Regions from separate parts of the Homo sapiens genome. Here region 1 is linked to region 2. Evidence: promoter capture Hi-C in human tissues and cell types (Jung and others, 2019). All regions are on one chromosome and are shown on one strand. Each heading gives the region's core, a stretch centred on a gene start or on the middle of the fragment in contact. The rest is flanking DNA. Distances are from core to core; before and after follow the strand shown. Region 1 holds the start of LOC124904418 (a long non-coding RNA gene). Region 2 holds the start of VPS72 (vacuolar protein sorting 72 homolog).

Evidence for each region. The method cuts DNA at HindIII sites, captures the fragments that hold promoters and counts their contacts. A contact is called where the count stands out against the background at its distance.
Region 1: a contact is called between a fragment that was not itself captured here and the fragment with the promoter of VPS72 in region 2, in 1 of the 25 tissues and cell types used here (heart left ventricle).

What each region holds. Positions count from the first base shown.
Region 1 is chr1:151,126,338-151,130,912 of GRCh38, forward strand. LOC124904418 (a long non-coding RNA gene) reads left to right here and starts at 2,877. Exons shown (of 2, transcript XR_007066619.1): 1 at 2,877-3,076; 2 at 3,172-3,775. The HindIII fragment of the contact is 3,145 bases long and covers 1-2,840 here.
Region 2 is chr1:151,188,292-151,192,690 of GRCh38, forward strand. VPS72 (vacuolar protein sorting 72 homolog) reads right to left here and starts at 1,906. Exons shown (of 6, transcript NM_005997.3): 1 at 1,714-1,906. The coding sequence starts at 1,830. RefSeq lists enhancers at 1,881-1,950, 1,991-2,050. The HindIII fragment of the contact is 20,238 bases long and covers 1-4,399 here.

The sequences.
Region 1 (4,575 bases), core at 18-2,517, 63 kb before region 2:
TGCTATCTTAGTCCAAAATCAGCACACATTTATATTTAAAAATAGGAGGATCAGTCTGATAGTAGCACAATCCCCATTGATAGCCGGGGTGAACAGACCAATTTGACTAGCAAGATGGGTATCCTATCTAGTGTATAGAGTTCTGAAAAGCTGTTTTGTTGGCAAGAAGGATACCTTTCTTTACAAAATTAGCTTTGAGCCTGTCCAAAGCTAAGGACATATAAGCATCTGTGTTCAGCGACTGGAATCTCAAGTAAGTTCTCAAAGTCAATATTTAGGAAATTGGACACCTACCATGTACTAGGGTACATGTAGATAATTTCTTTTTGGTAAATACATATAGTCAGCAAATGCTGTGCACATATTCAAGTAATAGAAAGTAATTCTGGCAGGTACTTTATTAATATATATAGTCTTGGCTGTGCTGACAGAAAAAAAAGCAGGAACTTGTGGAGCCTTAAGAACCAAAGAACTAAAAATCTTGTTGAATTAAATCCTGGTGAGAGAAATCATCAAGATGGGAAAGTTGGAGGGAACTAGAGAGATAGGAACCTAGAGTTCTCTGATGGGTGATACTCTTTTTTTTTTTTTTTTTTTTTTGAGACAGAGTCTCACACTGTTGCCCAGGCTGGAGTGCGGTGGCATGATCTTGGCTCACTGCAGCCTCTGCCTCCCAGGTTCAAGTGATTCTCCTGCCTCAGCTTCCCTATTAGCTGGGATTACAGGCATGCACCACTACACTCAGCTAATTTTTGTATTTTTAGTAGAGACGGGGTTTCACCATGTTGGCCAGGCTGGTCTTGAACTCCTGACCTCAGGTGATCCACCCGCACTGGCCTCCCAAAGTGCTGGGCTTACAGGTGTGAGCCACCGTGCCCGGCTGGGTGATAGTCTTAAGTAATGGGAAAAATTATGAACTAGGGCAACTTTCCTAAGACTTCCTTCCTCTGTAAAAAAGAACCCTCTACTCCAAGGAGATCAATAGGTAAAAAATACAGGTGAAGGCTGAAGTGGGAGCAACCCAGTGATAACTACACCTGTGTAAGGCTTGTGCAAGACATTTGATAGGTAATTGAGTAAGTTAAGACTATGGGAGACTTCTGAACAAAAGTGTGGGGTTGCAGTCTGCTCCTATAACCAGTCCTAAAGTTTAAGGGTAGTGCTGTAAAGGAAAGGAAAGTTTGGGAAAGGGCCCAAAATTATAAATAACAATAGCCACCATGTTTTAAGCTTTTGCTACATGTCTGGCAATGTGCTAGGTACTCTGCATATACATATAAATACCCATCTTGTAAGGTGAGTATTATCCTCATCATATAGTTGTAAAAATAGGTTGACTTTGCAGAGTCACACACTTGTAAAAATTGTCCTTTTTTTTTTTTCTTTTTAAAGACAGGGTCTCACTCTTGCCCAGGCTGGAGTGCAGTGGCATGATCTTGGCTCACTGCAGCCTCGACCTTCGACCTCCAGGTCTCAAGCAATCCTCCACCTCAGCCTACTGAGAAGCTGGGACTACAGGTGCACACCACCATGCCTGGCTAATTTTTGTATTTTTGGTAGAGACAGGGTTTCACCATGTTGCCCAGGCTGGTCTTGAACTCCTGAGCTCAAGGGATCCACCTGCCTTACCTTCCCAAACTGTTGGAATTATAGGCGTGAGCCATGGCACCCTGGCTAAAATTGTTCTTTCTAAAACTACAGTTTCTACATTGAGTTAATTAGTGTACTTTCCTCTGTGATTTCCCTTTTGTCAGAATGCTATTTTATTCACTAGCCTTGGGCAGCTTAATTCATCTCAGATTTGCATTTAAGAAACTGAGGGCCGGGTGCCGTGGCCCGTAATCCCAGCACTTTGGGAGGCCAAGGCCGGCGGATCACGAGGTCAGGAAATTGAGACCATCCTGGCTAACATGGTGAAAACCTGTCTCTACTAAAAACACAAAGATTAACTGGGTGTGGTGGCAGGCGCCTGTAGTCCCAGCTACTCAGGAGGCTGAGGCAGGAGGCGGAGCTTGCAGTGAGCCGCAGTTGCACCACTGCACTCCAGCCTGGGTGACAGAGTGAGACACTATCTCGGAAAAAAAAAAAAAAAAAAAAAAGCCAAACTCGGGCAGATCACCTGAGGTTGGGAGTTCGAGACCAGCCTGGCCAACATGGTGAAACCCCATCTCTACTGAAAATACAAAAATTAGCCGGGCATGGTGGCACATCCCTGTAATCCCAGCTACTCGGGAGGCTGAGGCAGGAGGCTTGAACCCAGGAGGCAGAGATTGCAGTGAGCTGAGAGAGCCGAGATTGCACCACTGCACTCCAGCCTGGGCGACAGAGCAAGACTCTGTCTCAAAAAAAAAAAAAAGAAACTGAGAAGAAAAATATGATCCAAGCAGCATTTCCTATAAGCTCCCCAAAGTAAATTTTGCTCCAAAACTAATTTGGGGGTATCTGCATAGAGTTTCTGGCCAGCAATACTTGAGCAAGAAGAGTAAAAAATAATCTCTCTTGTGGGGAATGAATAGGGTCTTCATCTCTAGGTATGCTGGATGTTTTCTTTCTTTCCTTCCAGATTACGCTCCTCTATTCTGTAGCCTGTTCTCTGTCCTGGGAGACTGACCTATATGAACATCAATGGGCTTCCTGTGCTTTGGCCTCCAGTTGGATTCAGCCAATAGGGAGCCCTGACAGGAGACTGGGGGAAGAGAAAAGACTGAAGTCGATGTATTGACATTTGCCAGGCACAGTGGTGCACTCCTGTAATCTCAGCTACTCGGGAAGCTGAGGCACGAAAATCACTTGAACCTGGGAGGCGGAGGTTTTGGTGAGCTAAGATCACACCACTGCACTCCAGCAACTGTATCGCAAAAAAAAAAAAAAAAAAAAAAAAAAGTCACTGCTTCTCTCAAGGCACTCTCCCCCTCCAGGACCTAGAAACTAATAACTCCTTTTATCCTTTTAGGCCTAATACAGTTATTAGCCTCCAGTTACTGACCTATCCTTTGCCCATACCTTTCAAAATAGCCCTTCATTATTTTGAGAATGTTATTTCCTGTTGGGACCCTGTCTGATACACCTGGTAAAGGTAGGTGATCTTTTCGATTTACAGGCTTCATATTTTATCCATGTACTTGAACCTTACTCTCATACATATAACCTTATATTCTTATGAGCCAACAGTTCTGAAGGGTCAACTGCTGGATTAAGTAGCAGAGAGTGACGCATACCTGTGTGGTTCTCATGGATGGGACAGTGACATCAAGGAGTTAAAAACCTGAGAGACAATAATATCTCAGGCCCCTGTGACTTAGCCCCCAAAGAACCCAAGATGCTGAACAGCTTTTCAAGCTCTGTGACTGTGGAACCTTCTGTGATTCAAGTCCCCAAAGCCTTACACAAACTGATGGAATCTGTCTGCTGGGGCCCTGGTTTCTCCATAACCTCCCAGGATGCCTCTGAGAAATCAGCTTAGAAATCCCTGAGGATGATGATGCTATCCTCCCGTTGGCACATTCTGGTTTTCCTAAAGACAAAAACTGAGCTAATGGTATGATTTTTTAAAAAAGAGTATTAGCAGATTCCTTGAGGTCATATTTATCCTTCTATTGTCAGGGATAATTTACTTTAATTCATCCTCTTAATTTATTATTCACTACTCTCTATCAGGGAGAGGTATCTGTATTAATGAACTGCATACTTGGTAGAAGTCTGCTTTATTTTGGGCAAATCATTTTCCCACAAAGCACTTAATTTAAATATATATATTTATACGGTACTTTACAAATCCCTGTTGCCATATGTTCTTTCCATTCCTTACCAAAAAAACAGCCTCAAAGATGTTGGTTGAATTGCCAAGGTCACATAGAAAACAAGAGGTAGAGACCCAGGACTGTTGCTCTCACTGCAACATAGTTACTTCTGTTAGCTCTGAGAGTTCAGTTTAGATACTCTTTGGCTAAAGAAGTCACCATAGTGATAAATACTAATAAAAGAACATATTTTATAATTAAACTACAACCAGGACTTTAACCTATAAATTACTGCTGCCTGCAAAGAATTACAAGATTAAATTTCCATTGTATATATCTCTCTTTTAGGTCTATATTTAAACCTTAGGATCATTTACCCTTTTTGTTTGTGACCACCTTCAAGGCAAGAACTATATTTGAGTTTTGTCCCTCAGAGGACTGTGAAAGGCTGCAGCCTTGAAACTTTTCCTTGTCCTTCAAAATTTCGGTTTGAAGAGGATAATGAAGTCAAGTGACTGGATTCTCTACTCCTTCCTTGCTTGCTTTCCTCCAGTATCTAGGAAACTAGCACTGGCCCCGAGGCACCTTGGTTTAAGTAAGGCACCCCATACGGGAAAAACTGAGACCTAAAGGACCACTTCAACCTGGTGAAACAAGCGCCAAGCAAAAAGAGGTCAGACTCTGGAGGACAACCAAATTTGGCCAGACAAGCTTAACTGAAATGGAAATAATGTTCAGAGGGCATTAAAAAACCCTGGGGGTAAAATCTATAGGTGAAAATTATAAGGATACAAAGGGAAAGGGATTGCCTAGTGAAAGCAGATCGCAAAGTTAG
Region 2 (4,399 bases), core at 656-3,155:
TCCCAAAGTGCTGGAATTACAGGCGTGAGCCACCACACCCAGCCCCTAAGTCCTGTGGGTTCTATTCCTTAATTTCTCTTGAATCTTTCTGTTTCTCTACTGCCATGCCCCCTTCAAGCCATTCTCATTACAGAGTAAGTAACCTTCCTAAAGTACAAATTTCATCGTGGAATTCTGATGACTCTTCTCAGTCCTCTGGATGAAGAGCAAAATTCCTTAACATAGCTCACAAGGCCCTAAAGGATCTGGCCCATGCCTACTCCCTGCAGGCTTATCAATCTTTAGTCTCCTTCATGCTCTGGAGAATGAAAGTAGACTTGCAGGTCCTAGACCAGGATCTCAATGTCTTTACATACTCAGCCCATCCTGCTCTGTGGACTAACCTTTCTCCTTCTCCTGCTTTTCATCAAGCTAAGGTCTACTTTTCAAACTGTCCTCAGCTTAAACATCATCCCTCCAGGGATGCCTATCCTGATCAACAACTTTGGTTCAGATGTATTACCTTAACACTCTTACACCTTGTTTTAGTCCTTATCACACATTTTTTGTTTGTTTTTGAGACGGAGTCCTGCTCTGTCGCCCAGGCTGGAGTGCAGTGGTACGATCTCGGCTCACTGCAACCTCCTCCTCCCAGGTTCAAGCGATTCTCTGCCTCAGCCTCCTGAGTAGCTGGGACTATAGGCGCACACCACCACGCTTGGCTAATTTTTGTATTTTAATAGAGACAGGGGGTTTTACCATGTTGGCCAGGATGGTCTCGATTTCCTGACCTTGTGATCCACCCGCCTCGGCCTTCCAAAGTGCTGGGATTACAGGCGTGAGCCACTGTGCCCGGCCAAAGCCACTGTGCTCGGCCTATCACACAGTATTTTAACTGTTAACCCAGGCAGTTACCCCACTGGGGCATGGAGTATGTAAGGACAGAGCACTGTTTTTAATATTCTGTTTCCCTAGAGCCTAAAACAACCTATTACCGATGGCATGCTCTGGGTACTCAACACATTTAATAAACGGGTAGATTCAACTAATAAAAATTTAGCAAGTGGCAGCCCAGTCCGGACACCTCACACATAATGTTGAACAAAACAGACCATCTCTAACTTTATACAGTTTACAATGCAATAGAAAAGCATAAGCAAGTAAGCAAACCAAATCTAATTGCAAATTGAAATATGTTCTGTGGAAGAAATAAATGGGGACACTTGTTAGGATAGTCAAGGAAGGGTTATCTTCCTGAGAAAACATTTACACTGAGACCTGAAAGCTGAAAAAGAAGTGGGCTAAGCTCCTCTACTTTTGGAGCGGTTCCTTTCCATGTCTCAGGTGAATAATCCAGCAGTGGGCCAACGAGTATACATCGAGCAACTGTCTACTACTATGTGTGTGCCTCGTGTATGCTGGACGTCAGAAGTACAGTGAAAGATGCAACCACGCAAGTATACGGTAGGTTTCTGCCGTTCTCTGTTCTCTGGAGTGCCTCCGGAGAGCTTCTCCGTCTCAGGCCCCTTTGACCCCATCCAGAGCTCTCCCTTCTAGGACTCCACACTATCCGTTCCCCCGCCTCGCCCCCCGGCTCCGATTCACCCACCCAACTCGAGTATCAGCTCCCAGAGCTCCTCTCTATTCCCCGCCCTCTTCTTCTTTGTCCGGGGTTTCTCCCTTCAGGGCTCCTCTTTGCCTCCTCCCCTCCCTTTTCCCAGGCCCGGATCTTGCCTCTGTGAAACCCCCATAAGTCGTCTGGTAGAACTCATCTTCCTCCTCTGCCTCCAAAAGCCCAGAAAGCCGGTTCCCAGCGGTCTTCCGGGGTGCCCGGCCCCCAGCCAAACTCATACCGCCTACCGAGACTGCGCCGCCACCTGCAGCCCCTCACCAGCTCGGTTTTGGGAGCTCGACGCTCGACATCACTACCTGCGGGTGGCCACCAGCGGCGGAAGTCGGGCGTTTACAGGCAGAAGTAACAGAGTGTCGAGAGACTCCCAGTCCCACCCTCTAAACCCTCTTTACTCTTCAGCCTCTCCTACTCCTGCGCGGATGCTCTAGGCCGCTTGCTCTAGTACCCAGCGATCTCCCTTGCTCAATGAGTCCACTTGGTGGTACGAAGACCCCCATAACCCTAAGTCAACACATTTTATTTTATTTATTTTTATTTTATATATATATATGGTTTTTTTTTTCCGTAGGGACGGAGTCTCGCCTCGCTCTGTCGCCAGACTGGAGTGCAGTGGCACGATCTCGGCTCACTGCAACCTCCGTCCCCCGGGCTGAAGCGATTCTCCTGCCTCAGTCCCCCGAGTAGCTGGGATTACAGGCGCCCGCCACCATGCCCAACTAATTTTTGTATTTTTAGTAGAGACAGCTTTCACCGTGTTGGCCAGGCTGGTCTCGAACTCCTGACCTCAGGTGATCCGCCCGCTTCGGCCTCCCAAAGTGCTGGGATTACAGGCATAAGCCTGCGCCCCCAGCTCACATTTTCTTTTAGAAGAGGTCATTCTCTCCGCTCCAGTCCATTTTCTACACTGCTGCTAGTAGGAAACTTTCTAAAAACCCACGTTTTGCCACTCCTGTCCTCAAACATTTTTAATGGCTCCACATCATCTACAAGATAAAGTCAAAAATCCTTGAGGAAGGAAGCATAGTATTGTGGTTAAAAACACAGCCATAGACATTTATCCAAAGGAAAGGACATAATTCAACCTGAGGAAGCCAATTTAGGAGGAAAAAAAAAAAGGAAATCAGTATATCCAAGAGACGTCTGCACTCCATATTTATGCACCCCCATATTTATTGCAGCACTACTTAGAGTAGCCAAAATAGGAAATCAATCTCTGTGTCCAACAACAGATGAATAAAGGAAATAGGGTGTATATACACAATGGAATACTTTTCAGCCATTAAAAAGAAGAAAATCCTGTCATTTGCAGCAACATGGATGGAACTGGAGGACATGTTAACTGACTTAAGCCACGAACAGAAAGTTAAAACACTGCATGTTCTCACTCATATGTGACGCTTTTAAAAAGTTGATTTCATAGAAGTGAAAGAACAGAGGATACTGGAGGCTGGGAAGAGCAGGGGGAAGGAAGGGACAGGGAAAGATTTGTTAAAAGACACAAAATTGTGGCTCACACCTGTAATCCCAGCACTTTGGGAGGCCGAAGGGGGTGGATCATGAGGTCAGGAGTTCACGACCAGCCTGGCCAAGATGGCGAAACCCCATCTCTACTAAAAATACAAAAATTAGCTGGTCGTGGTGGTGGGCGCCTGTTATCCCAGATACTCGAGAGGCTGAGGCAGAGAATTGCTTGAACTCGGGAGGCGGAGGTTGCAGTGAGCCGAGATCGCGCCATTTGCTCTCCAGCCTGGGAAACAGAGCAAGACTCCGTCTCAGAAAAAAAAAAAAGACAAAATTGGGCCTGGCACAGTGGCTCACACCTGTAATCCCAGCACTTTGGGAGGCTGAAGCGGGCAGATCCCGAGGTCAAGAGATTGTGACCATCCTGGCCAACATGGTGAAACCCCGTATCTACTACAAATACAAAAATTAGCTGGGTGTGGTGGCGCGCACCTGTAGTCCCAGCTACTAGGGAGGCTGAGGCAGGAGAATCGCTTGAACCCGGGAGGCAGAGGTTGCAGTGAGCTGAGATTGTGCCACTGCACTCCAGCCTGGCAACAGAGCAAGACTCCATCTCAAAAGAAAAAAAAAAAAGACACAAAATTACAATTTTTTTTGAGACAGGGTCTCTATTGCCCAGGCTGGAGTGCAGCAGCAGGATCATGGCTCACTGCCTCCTTGACCTCCTGGGCTCAAGCTGTCCTCCCACCTTGGCTTCCAAAAGTGCTAGGATTACAGCTGTGAGCCACCACACTGGCCCCCAATTACATTTGTTTGTTCGTTTGTTTGTTTGTTTGAGATAGGATCTCACTTTGTCACCCAGGCTGGAATACAGTGATGCAATCACTGCTCACTGCAGTCTCGACCTCCTGGGTTCAAGTGATCATCGCACCTCAGCCTCGTGGGTAGCTGGAACTACAGGCTCGTGTCACCACGCCTGGCTAATTTTTTGTACTTTTTGTGGAGATGAGATTTCATCATGTTGCCCACGGTGATCACCTGAGCTCAAGTGATCCCCACTCCTCAGCCTCTCAATGTGCTGGGATTACAGGTGTGAGCCACCTCGCTTGGCCCCAAATTACATTTAGATAGGAGGAATAAATTCTAGTGTTCTTGGCCGGGTGTGGTGGCTCACACCTGTAATCCCAAAACTTTGGGAGGCTGAAGTGGGCAGATCACCTTAGATCAGGAGTTTGAGACTAGCCTGGCCAACATGGCGAAACCCCATCTCTACTAAAAATACAAAAATTAGCCGAGCACGTTGGCGGGTGCCTGTAATCCCACCTA